4 separate regions of the Homo sapiens genome follow, and all the other regions are linked to region 1. The links are contacts of gene promoters, found by promoter capture Hi-C in blood cells and fetal thymus (Javierre and others, 2016). All regions are on one chromosome and are shown on one strand. The core of a region is centred on a gene start or on the middle of the fragment in contact, and the rest is flanking DNA. Distances in the headings are between cores, read along the strand shown. Region 1 holds the start of CKM (creatine kinase, M-type). Region 2 overlaps CEACAM16 (CEA cell adhesion molecule 16, tectorial membrane component). Region 3 overlaps PVR (PVR cell adhesion molecule). Region 4 overlaps CBLC (Cbl proto-oncogene C).

What was found. The method cuts DNA at HindIII sites, captures the fragments that hold promoters and counts their contacts. A CHiCAGO score of 5 or more calls a contact.
Region 2: a contact is called between a fragment that was not itself captured here and the fragment with the promoter of CKM in region 1, in 2 of 17 cell types (total B cells and erythroblasts). The highest score is 5.9, in total B cells.
Region 3: a contact is called between a fragment that was not itself captured here and the fragment with the promoter of CKM in region 1, in 2 of 17 cell types (total B cells and total CD4 T cells). The highest score is 5.7, in total B cells.
Region 4: a contact is called between a fragment that was not itself captured here and the fragment with the promoter of CKM in region 1, in 1 of 17 cell types (total CD4 T cells). The highest score is 5.0, in total CD4 T cells.

Annotation. Positions count from the first base shown.
Region 1 is chr19:45,321,481-45,324,180 of GRCh38, reverse strand. CKM (creatine kinase, M-type) reads left to right here and starts at 1,306. Exons shown (of 8, transcript NM_001824.5): 1 at 1,306-1,360. RefSeq lists an enhancer at 340-582. The HindIII fragment of the contact is 13,711 bases long and covers 1-2,700 here.
Region 2 is chr19:44,707,330-44,710,205 of GRCh38, reverse strand. It overlaps CEACAM16 (CEA cell adhesion molecule 16, tectorial membrane component), which reads right to left. Exons shown (of 7, transcript NM_001039213.4): 6 at 2,019-2,345. All of the region lies in intron 1 of CEACAM16-AS1 (CEACAM16, CEACAM19 and PVR antisense RNA 1), which reads left to right. Among named protein-coding and RNA genes, the nearest start is that of CEACAM16, 9.6 kb to the right of the region's middle. The HindIII fragment of the contact is 7,361 bases long and covers 1-2,876 here.
Region 3 is chr19:44,662,193-44,664,892 of GRCh38, reverse strand. It overlaps PVR (PVR cell adhesion molecule), which reads right to left. Exons shown (of 8, transcript NM_006505.5): 8 at 1-2,700. Among named protein-coding and RNA genes, the nearest start is that of CEACAM19, 7.9 kb to the left of the region's middle. The HindIII fragment of the contact is 240 bases long and covers 1,331-1,570 here.
Region 4 is chr19:44,798,851-44,801,613 of GRCh38, reverse strand. CBLC (Cbl proto-oncogene C) reads right to left here. Exons shown (of 11, transcript NM_012116.4): 10 at 1,164-1,233; 11 at 962-1,063. The coding sequence ends at 1,171. Among named protein-coding and RNA genes, the nearest start is that of BCAM, 8.9 kb to the left of the region's middle. RefSeq lists an enhancer at 1,127-1,176. The HindIII fragment of the contact is 9,209 bases long and covers 1-2,763 here.

The sequences.
Region 1 (2,700 bases), core at 57-2,556:
GGAGTCTGAGGGAGAGGCACAGAGGCTCCCTTTCTCTAAGCCAGTCCTCACCTGCCTAAGAAGATGTGAAGGAGACCCAGGAGACCCTGGGATAGGGAGGAACTCAGAGGGAAGGGACATTCTTTTCTTCGTCGCAATCCTGGGAGCTCCCTGGAGGAGGAGACCCGATCAGCCTGCAATCCTGGCGCGTCCCAGGAGGAGAAAGCGGCTTCCTCTATACTGTACTCTCCTCCACAGAACCCCCCTCTCAGCCCTGGAAGTCCTTGCTCACAGCCGAGGCGCCGAGAGCGCTTGCTCTGCCCAGATCTGCGCGAGTCTGGCGCCCGCGCTCTGAACGGCGTCGCTGCCCAGCCCCCTTCCCCGGGAGGTGGGAGCGGCCACCCAGGGCCCCGTGGCTGCCCTTGTAAGGAGGCGAGGCCCGAGGACACCCGAGACGCCCGGTTATAATTAACCAGGACACGTGGCGAACCCCCCTCCAACACCTGCCCCCGAACCCCCCCATACCCAGCGCCTCGGGTCTCGGCCTTTGCGGCAGAGGAGACAGCAAAGCGCCCTCTAAAAATAACTCCTTTCCCGGCGACCGAGACCCTCCCTGTCCCCCGCACAGCGGAAATCTCCCAGTGGCACCGAGGGGGCGAGGGTTAAGTGGGGGGGAGGGTGACCACCGCCTCCCACCCTTGCCCTGAGTTTGAATCTCTCCAACTCAGCCAGCCTCAGTTTCCCCTCCACTCAGTCCCTAGGAGGAAGGGGCGCCCAAGCGCGGGTTTCTGGGGTTAGACTGCCCTCCATTGCAATTGGTCCTTCTCCCGGCCTCTGCTTCCTCCAGCTCACAGGGTATCTGCTCCTCCTGGAGCCACACCTTGGTTCCCCGAGGTGCCGCTGGGACTCGGGTAGGGGTGAGGGCCCAGGGGGCACAGGGGGAGCCGAGGGCCACAGGAAGGGCTGGTGGCTGAAGGAGACTCAGGGGCCAGGGGACGGTGGCTTCTACGTGCTTGGGACGTTCCCAGCCACCGTCCCATGTTCCCGGCGGGGGGCCAGCTGTCCCCACCGCCAGCCCAACTCAGCACTTGGTCAGGGTATCAGCTTGGTGGGGGGGCGTGAGCCCAGCCCCTGGGGCGGCTCAGCCCATACAAGGCCATGGGGCTGGGCGCAAAGCATGCCTGGGTTCAGGGTGGGTATGGTGCGGGAGCAGGGAGGTGAGAGGCTCAGCTGCCCTCCAGAACTCCTCCCTGGGGACAACCCCTCCCAGCCAATAGCACAGCCTAGGTCCCCCTATATAAGGCCACGGCTGCTGGCCCTTCCTTTGGGTCAGTGTCACCTCCAGGATACAGACAGCCCCCCTTCAGCCCAGCCCAGCCAGGTACTGCACGGGGCGGGAATCTGGGTGGGGGCCAGAGTAGGGGATTTCTGTGGGTGCTAGAGGCTTGGCTTGGGAAAGGGTCTGTGTGTCACCCCTTGCTCCACCAACATCCTCCTATACAAAGGCAGGTCGGTGCGTGGGAAGGTTGACCCTTGTGTGTCTGGGAGGCCCCTCCATCTGTGAGGCTGCCTGAACCCCCCACTGGGACCTGTGATTTCTGCGGCACAAGTCTTGGGTTATGGGGAGGGATCCGAGATGAAAGGGGTCCTGACAGCTGCCAACTGTCACCCCCTGCAAGGGGCTGTTGAGCCAGGCCTGTGTTCATTACAGTTTGTCGCCAACACTGGCGCCACAAGCCGTGGGAGGTGTGTCTGTCGCCTAGCAGAGTCTGCAAGAGCAGGTGTCGCAGGCTTTCTTTGCGTTTGCTACTGTGTGGGTCCCTGTGACCTTGTTTCTGACTTAGTAGCGGACACATGAGTGTCCTGGGCATGTCCTTGAGTTTGGAAGTGTGACTGTGTGACTTAGTTTACAGTGTGATCTGGGGAGTCTGCGGTGGTGGGGGTGTGTGGCTCTGGGGCTTTCTGCTTATGTCTCTTGTGGGGGGGGTCACCACCCTGCCTCAGTGCCCTCTCCTGGGGTGTCCCTGGCAGGGATTAGGGGGGCATCCTCTGAAGGGAGGGGGTCTGGGCTGCCATCCCAGGATGTCCTTGAGCCCCGAGGCCTGGACCCGTGTCCTCCCAGCCACCCTGGCCCACCTGTCTTGGGCCTGCTGACTTGGTGCAAGCCGAGCCCCGGAATGTGGGGGTGGGGCGGGGCAGCAGCTGGGGGTGGGATGGCAGGCAGTTGCCAGATTCTAAAAATAACCACCCTGGACAGCAGCACCCAAGGTCTTTGGCGGGTCCCTGTTCCTCTTCCCTGGCTTCAGCTCACCGTGGTCCCAATCTCCCTCCCACAATCCCACCTGCTTCCCATCCCCGTCTCCCACCGCTGCTGGAGGCCCCTTCTCCTTTCTGGGTCCCTTCTCCTTTCTGGGTCCAGTGAATAAAATAATAATAACAGTAGGACCTGGCGCAGTGGCTCACACGCATAATCCCAGCATCTTGGGAGGCCGATGCTGGAGGATCACTTGAGGCCAGGAGTCCCAGACCAGCCTGGGCAACATAGTGAGACCCCATCTCTGCAAAAAAGTAGTAATAACAAATAACAATAATAGCAGCCACCAGGGTTCCAGGCTCCAACTCCATGCCAGGGCCTGTGCTCAGCCAACCTCATGGCCAAGCTCAGAGGATCCTGGCAATCCTACGGGGCAGGCTCAGTTCACAGGAGACAGAGGTCCAGAG
Region 2 (2,876 bases), core at 60-2,559, 610 kb after region 1:
AACCAGGGTTTGATCAGTGACTGGATGAAAGTGGGTGACTGGCAGTGGTTGAGTCCTTGATCCTGGAAATTTCCAGTGATAGGGGAGGCACCATCCCGGACTCAGGGACATGGCTTCTGAGAATGCTCTGTCTGCTGGGGGAGGCAAGATTCCAGACTTGGGGAATGATCTCATCCCCAGTGTCTGAGAGCTAATGGGGGAAACCTGGCCCTGCTGTAGGGACATGGACTCAGACCTCTGGGGATGCTCAGTCAGATGGAGGATACATGGACCCTGACTCTGGGAGCTCCCAGTCTGATGGAGGAGACATAGACCCTGACTCTGGGATCTCCCAGTCTGATGGAGGAGACATGGTCCCTGACTCTGGGAGCTCCCAGTCTGATGGAGGAGACATGCTCCCTGACTCTGGGAGCTCCCAGTCTGATGGAGGAGACATGGTCCCTGACTCTGGGAGCTCCCAGTCTGATGGAGGAGACATGGTCCCTGACTCTGGGAGCTCCCAGTCTGATGGAGGAGACATGGTCCCTGACTCTGGGAGCTCCCAGTCTGATGGAGGAGACATAGACCCTGACTCTGGGAGCTCCCAGTCTGATGGAGGAGACATGGACCATGCCTCTGGGAGCTCCCGGTCTGATGGAGGAGACATAGACCCTGACTCTGGGAGCTCCCGGTCTGATGGAGGAGACATGGTCCCTGACTCTGGGAGCTCCCAGTCTGATGAAGGAGACATGGTCCCTGACTCTGGGAGCTCCCAGTCTGATGAAGGAGACATGGTCCCTGACTCTGGGAGCTCCCGGTCTGATGGAGGAGACATAGACCCTGACTCTGGGAGCTCCCAGTCTGATGGAGGAGACATGGTCCCTGACTCTGGGAGCTCCCAGTCTGATGGAGGAAACATGGTCCCTGACTCTGGGAGCTCCCAGTCTGATGGAGGAGACATGGACCCTCACTCCTGGAGTTCCCAGTCTGACGAGGGAGACATAGTCCCTGACTCCGGGAGCTCCCAGTCTGATGGAGGAGACATGGACCATGCCTCTGGGAGCTCCCAGTCTGATGAAGGAGACGTGGTCTCTGCCTCTGGGAGCTCCCAGTCTGACGGAGGAAACATGGTCTATAACTCTGGGAGCTCTCAGTCTGATGGAGGAGACCTGGATCTTGACTCTGGGAGCTCCTAGTCTGATGGAGGAGGCATAGTTTCTGACTCTAGAAGCTCCCAGTTGATGGGGAGACACGGTTCCCAACATCTGAGAGCTCCCAGTCTGAGGGAGGTGACATGGTCTCCAACACTTGGGAATTCCCAATCCAATGGGGGAGACATTGTTCCTGACTTCTAAGAGCTCCCAGTCTGATGGGGAGACATGGTCCCCAACATCTGGGAACTTCCATTCTGTGAGGAGACACAACTTCCACACCTACAGGCCTCCATCCTAATGGAGCAATCATCCTTATTTCAGTTTGAAAGAGAAACTCCACCATCTGATGATAGAAACTTTGCCCTCACAATAATAGAAAGGAGGAGACATGATCCCCACTGCACAGGATCTCCCAGTCTGAATAGGGAGGCCTGATTCATCCTTATTCTCTGCCTGCAGTCTGATAGGAGAGGTAAACTCCTATAATTAACCCATTACCCCAATATGGACCCTATGTTTTAGGGTCCACCTGTCTGCAGGAAAAAGGATGCTCCACCATCAGACTATGCCTTCTCTTTTAAAACCTTCAGTGTGCTGTACCTCTTATTTGAGAGAGAAGGCATGGGGGTCCCCTTTAGCAACCCTCAGTCTGATGGAGGAGGCCTGTCTACCCACAGTGTAGGTCATTAGTTTGATAGAAGAGGCAGAACCCTATTTGGGGACCCCCAAGTTAGGCGGAGGAGACAAGGCTGCTTCCTTCAGCCTGATGGGGGATGGGTATCCATCTTTGGTCTATGTCCCCCCAGCCTGATGGAGGAAGCAAAGGCTCCTTTTGGGAGCCCTTGTCTAAAAAGGGGCACGCCTTGCCCCTTCCCACACACTCACGGGCCACCTGCAGCTCCACTTCCAGTGTCTCAGTCTTGCCCTGCACTGTGACAGTCTTGAGTGTGTAGCGGCCAGTGTCTGTGAGGTTCAGCTTCTGCACCAACAGCGAGCAGTTGGGGAAGCCCACCTCCCGGCCTGTGTGCGCGGGGCCTGCAATCCAGGTTCCTGACGGCAGCTGGCTGAGCAGCCGGTTGGGCTCGGAGGCAGGCCCGCGGTACCAGGCGTAGACCAGCAGGTCCTTGGGGTAGCCCTGCACGGTCAGTGTTACGTCCTGGCCCTCCGTTGGCTTGGTGGGCACGGGCACGATCATCGTGGCAACTGCTGCAGCTGGGGAGAGAGCGAGCGGGCTGGGTCAGTTTGGTCTGCATCTGGCATGGTGTCCCCTTCCCAACCCTTGCTGGCCTCCCCCCAGCTGGCTGGCACTCCCCATGTAGGGTGCTGGGAAGGAGACTGAGGAAGGAGGTGACTTGTGCGGTGGTGGAGGTGGATTCTGGGTCCCAGTAGTGTCTGCTGGGGTCTGTGTTTCCCCTATCAGACTACAAATTCCCAGACTTTGAGAGGTGTCTCTCCCATCAAACTGGAAGACCCTAGAGGCTTGGGTCATGTCTCCTCCATCAGATTGGAAATTCCCAAAATATAGGGGCCATGTCTCCCCTATCAGAGTGGAAATCCCAGAAAATGGGGACCATGTCTTCCCCATGAGATGGTTGGGACTTGTGTCTGTCAGACCGAGAGACCCCAGAATGTGTAAGCCATAGCTCCTCCATCAGATTGAAAGATTCTTGAGGGTGAGAGCATGTCTCCTCCATCAGATTGAAAATTCCTACAAGGCGGCAGCCCTGTTTCCTCCATCAGATT
Region 3 (2,700 bases), core at 201-2,700, 660 kb after region 1:
CCTACACTCAGGTGTTAACATGAGCTAAATGACAGTGTGCATTGGCCAGGCACGGTGGCTTATGCCTATAAATCCCAGTACTTTAGGAGGCCAAGGCGGGAGGATTGTTTGGGCCCAGGAATTTGAGACCAGCCTGGGCAAGATGGCAAGATTCCTTTCTCTAAAATAAAAAAAAAAAAAAGTAAAATAAATGACAGTGTGTAAAGTTATTCACTACAACATTGTAATAGTGAAAGGCTGGAAAGGATACAAATGCCTGTCCTTAGAGGCCTCGTTAAAAAAGCCCTGTACAGCCCTCCCATGGAATATGAGGTGGGTGTAGAACAACTCAGGAGGCATTCTCTGAATTACCAGAAACTGAGCAAAAAAAGTAAGGTTCAGGGTGGGCGCGGTGGCTCACATCTGTAATCCTAGCGCTTTGGGAGGCCAAGGCAGGAGGAGCACTTGAGCCCAGGAGTTCCAGCCCAGCCTAGGCAACATAGCGAGATGCCTATCTCTACAAAAGTTAAAAAGAGATTTAGCCAGGTGGGGTGGCGCCCACCTATAGTCCCAGCTACTCGGGAGGCTGAGATGGAAGGATAGCCCGAGCCCAGCAGGTCGAGGCTGCAATGAGCCATGATCACGCCACTGCACTCCAGCCTGGGCAACAAAGTGAGACTCTTATTTCTAAAATAAATAAATAAATAAACAAATAAATAAATAAATAAAGTGCACTATTCAATGGTTTTTTGGTATAATTAATTTTCAAAAATGGTGGTTAAAAAGAGATAACAGACAATTTGCCATTTTAGCTATTTTTGAGTGTATGATTCAGTGGCATTCATTACATTCACAGTGTTGTGTAAAACTGGATATCCATGTGCAGAAGAATGGAGCTGGACCATTACACTCCAAACACAAATTAGAATGGATCCCTCATGTCTTTTTATCTTCTAATTTTGGGACGTTTATGTACTATCTAATTAAAAAAATTAGCTTAGCATGGTGAGGGGCAGCTGTGGTCACAGCTACTTGGTAGGCTGAGGTGGGAGGATTGCTTGAGCCCCGGAGTTAGAGGCTGCAATGAGCTATGATCGTGCCATTGCACTCCAGCCTGGGTGACAGGAGACACCGTCCCTTAAACATTTTTTTTGGAGAGGAAAAAAAAAAAGACAAGCTGTTCCTAAGGTGCCTGGGAATCCCAGCCCTTATGGCCCTCTTCATTTAGCGTCTTGCTTCCATGCCTCTGGTTCCATCCCACGTGGTGACAGTACACATGAAACCTGTCTGCTCCTTGATTTCCACAAAAGACCCCATTGCACACAGCCGCTGGAGGTACAATAAATAAGCTTTAATGAGATTCTGGGTGCTGGAGACAGACAAGGAGCTTACGTGCCACCAAAGCAACCAATGTTCCTTTATCTCCCCAACTCTGTGGGGTCCCACTGGCCTCCTCACCCTTGAGCCCTTTGCCCCTGCCATCCTGCTGGTTCCTATCTCTTCCCCACACTTCTCTGTTCCCGGCTCTTCCATCTCTGTCCAGAGCAAATCCTCTGTCCTGCTTATTTTCTCTTGCAGAGCAGCTCAAGCTTTGCATTCCCATTTAGCATCTTGGCCCAAGGTCTTCTCTCCCTCAACGTATTTTCCCAAACAGTTTTCTTTATAAGAGGAATTCTGCTGTCTGCCCTCAAGATCATAGACCTTTTTAACTTGTCAGTTGCACTGAGCAGCTGGGCCTCCTGGGTCTTGGGTCGCATCCATCTTGGTCCTATAGGAGCGTGTCCTGAGCAACTGCAGCGCTGCCTCCCCCTGCATCCCTTCCCCCTTGTGTTGGAAATTGCATTTGCTTCTTTTGTGGGTTATTTCCTGCCAGTCCCAGCTTGCTGGCTGCAGATGCTGGCAGAAAGTGGCTGCAGATGCTGGCAGAAAGTGGCTGCAGCTGACAACCTTCTTCAAGTTCACATCTAGTAGTTTTCTCTGCTCCTTGGACACCCCCCAGGCAGCTGCTTGCGGCCTGAATTGCAGCCTCTGGTGACCAGGGTCAGTGGCTGTTTCTTGTAACCACAGAGATCTGACGGATACAGAGATTTAGAAGCTCAAGGCCAGAGGCCAAATTTTTACCAAAATTCTCTGGTGGCCCACACCCTTCTGTGTGGTCTGCTATGCAGTAAAGGCTTAACCTTGCCCAAAGAAAGATCGGGCCCTTTATCCTCAGCTCCTGGGCATTCATCTCTAAGCCCTTGGAATATCCTGCCTGGTAGCTGATCTTGGAGTCTTGGGCCACTCTGGGTGGTTCATGCTAATGATGTGATTTATGGTGGGGGTCTTGGGCCACACGGTATTGGCTTGATGTATGAGGTCAGCCGTGTGGATGGTGAGCTGCTTAATTCAGCACTTTGGGAGGCCAAGGCAGAAGTATCACTTGGAGCCAAGAGTTCAAGACCAGCCTGGGCAACACAGGGAAACCTCGACTTTACAAATAATAAAAAGATTAGCCAGACGTGGTGGCACATACCTGTAGTCATAGCTACTCAGGAGGCTGAGGTGGGAGGATGACTTGGCGTTGAGAAGTCAAGGCTGCAATGAACTGTGATCTCACCACTGTACTCTAGTCTGCCAACAGAGCCAGACCCTGTCTCAAGACAAACAAAAAACTCTGGACACAAAGATCTCGAGTGAGCTGCTCTGGTTGGCAGTATTGGCAGTACTTCTTGCATGTTG
Region 4 (2,763 bases), core at 183-2,682, 520 kb after region 1:
AGTATGGACTCCTGGGTCTGAGGAAGGAGGGGCTGCAGTATGGACTCCTGGGTCTGAGGGAGAAGGGGCTGCAGTATGGACTCCTGGGTCTGAGGGAGGAGGGGCTGGAGTATGGACTCCTGGGTCTGAGGGAGGAGGGGCTGCAGTATGGACTCCTGGGTCTGAGGGAGGAGGGGCTGGGGCCTGGACTCCTGGGTCTGAGGGAGAAGGGGCTGCAGTATGGACTCCTGGGTCTGAGGAAGGAGGGGCTGCAGTATGGACTCCTGGGTCTGAGGGAGGAGGGGCTGGAGTATGGACTCCTGGGTCTGAGGGAGGAGGGGCTGCAGTATGGACTCCTGGGTCTGAGGGAGGAGGGGCTGGGGCCTGGACTCCTGGGTCTGAGGGAGAAGGGGCTGCAGTATGGACTCCTGGGTCTGAGGGAGGAGGGGCTGGAGTATGGACTCCTGGGTCTGAGGGAGGAGGGGCTGCAGTATGGACTCCTGGGTCTGAGGGAGGAGGGGCTGGGGCCTGGACTCCTGGGTCTGAGGGAGAAGGGGCTGCAGTATGGATTCCTGGGTCTGAGGAAGGAGGGGCTGCAGTATGGACTCCTGGGTCTGAGGGAGGAGGGGCTGCAGTATGGACTCCTGGGTCTGAGGGAGGAGGGGCTGGAGTATGGACTCCTGGGTCTGAGGAAGGAGGGGCTGCAGTATGGACTCCTGGGTCTGAGGGAGGAGGGGCTGGAGTATGGACTCCTGGGTCTGAGGGAGGAGGGGCTGGAGTATGGACTCCTGGGTCTGAGGGAGGAGGGGCTGCAGTATGGACTCCTGGGTCTGAGGGAGGAGGGGCTGGAGTATGGACTCCTGAGTCTGAGGGAGGAGGGGCTGGGGCCTGGACTCCTGTTGTTCAGGTGGGGACCAGGCCTGGGGACGGCCCTTTCCCAGTGCCTGCTGCCCTCTGCTGCCCCCTGCTGGCCACTGCACTCTTCCTTTGCACCCTGGAGGACAGACCAGGCTTGGCAGTTTATTTCGGTTTCACAACCCCCTTCCAGCCCTTGGGGCTCCCTTGAGCAGCACATCTGGGTGCCCTGTAGGCGGAGAGAGGGGTGGGTTAGATGAGGTCACCTCCAGGTGGAGGAGGGTGGAGTGGGGTGGAGTGGGCCAGGGAGGGTTAGGGAATGGACTCACCTGGCCTTCAGGCCGGGGCAGGGTCCTGGGGTCCCAGCGCAGCTGGAGGGGAGTTCCCCTTTAGGAGTCTCTGCAATGGAGATATTTTGAGAGGGCGGTTGATTCCCGGCATCCAATCTTTCCCTCTGCCCCTCTTCCCTGTCCCCTTTGTCTTAGACCTGGGAGTCCCAGACCACCTGGGGGCTGGAGGTGGCTTCCTGCGCGGCTGAGGCCACAGCCTTAATTCTTGGCAAGAGAAGAGGGGCCCGAAGTCTGGGGAGGGCCAAAAGTGCCTGGGGGGAGGAGATGAAGAAATGTCTCTGCTAGGCTGCAGCCTGGGTGGACGTCCTTTCACAGGCCCTGGACAGGGGTGACACAGTGGTGGCGGCCACCATCTGACAGGACCTTTGGCCTTGTCCCTAGTCCATGCTGCCTTTTCCCTCTCACCTCTAACTCGTGTAGGATGAAGTTTCAGTTTGTCTGTCCGCCTGTCCATCCATGTGTCCACCCTTCTGCTCACTTGTGTGCCCCACAGACAGTTCCCAAGCCTCTCCAGTGGGTCAGGCCCTTTCTTTCTTTTATTCTCTTTTCCTTTTCTCTTTCTTTTTTCTTCTTTTTCTTTCTTTTCTTTTCTTTCTTTCTTCTTTCTCTCTCGCTCTCTCCTTCCTTCCTTCTTTCTTTTTTCTCTTTCCCTCCCTCCCTTTCTTTCTTTTTCTATTTCTCTCTCTTTCCTTTCTCTCTCCCTCCTTCTTTCTCTCCCTTTCTTTCTCTCTCTCTTTCTTTACTTTTCTTTCTTTTTTAAAAACAACAACAACAACAACAACAAACCGAAAAAACAGGGGCCACGCGCGGTGGCTCACACCCGTAATCCCAGCACTTTGGGAGGCCGAGGTGGGTGGATCACCTGAGGTCAGGAGTTTGAGACCAGCCTGGCCAATATGGTGAAACCCTGTCTCTATGAAAAATACGAAATTAGCCAGGGGTGGTGGCACATTCCTGTAATTCCAGCTACTTGGGAGGCTGAGGCAGGAGAATCGTTTGAACCCAGGAGGTGGGGATTGCCATAAGCCAAGATTGCACCACTGCACTCCAGCCTGGGCAACAAGAGCGAAACTGTCTCAAAACAAAACAAAGCAAAACAGGGTCTCGCTCTGTTGCCTCGTCTGGAGTGCAGTGATGGGACCATAGCTCACTGCAGCCTTGACCTCCTGGGCTTAAACCATCCTCCTGCCTCAGCCTCCCAAAGTGCTGGGATTACAGGCATGAGCCACCGCGCCAGGCCAAGGCCCTGTTTTTCGCTCTGAGAAGACAGCTGTGAACAAGACAGAAAACTATCTTTGTCCTGGTGGAGCTGATGCTCCACTGAACCCGAGGCTCGCAGTGACTGATCAGCTCCTGAACAAGGAAATGTCCCAGAGCAAGTTCCATGTCCTTCAAAGTGCCTGGGAGAGGGAAGATGCCGGGGAGGCCTCTTGGAGATGGGAATGACCCAGCTGATGCCTGAGTGCAAGAAGGATCCAGACAGAGGCTCCGAGTGAGTGGAGGCTTGCTGGCAAGTTAGAAGAGCAGCAAGGGTCCAATGTTGCCGGAAAGGAGGTGGAGTAGGGGAGATCAGAGAGGT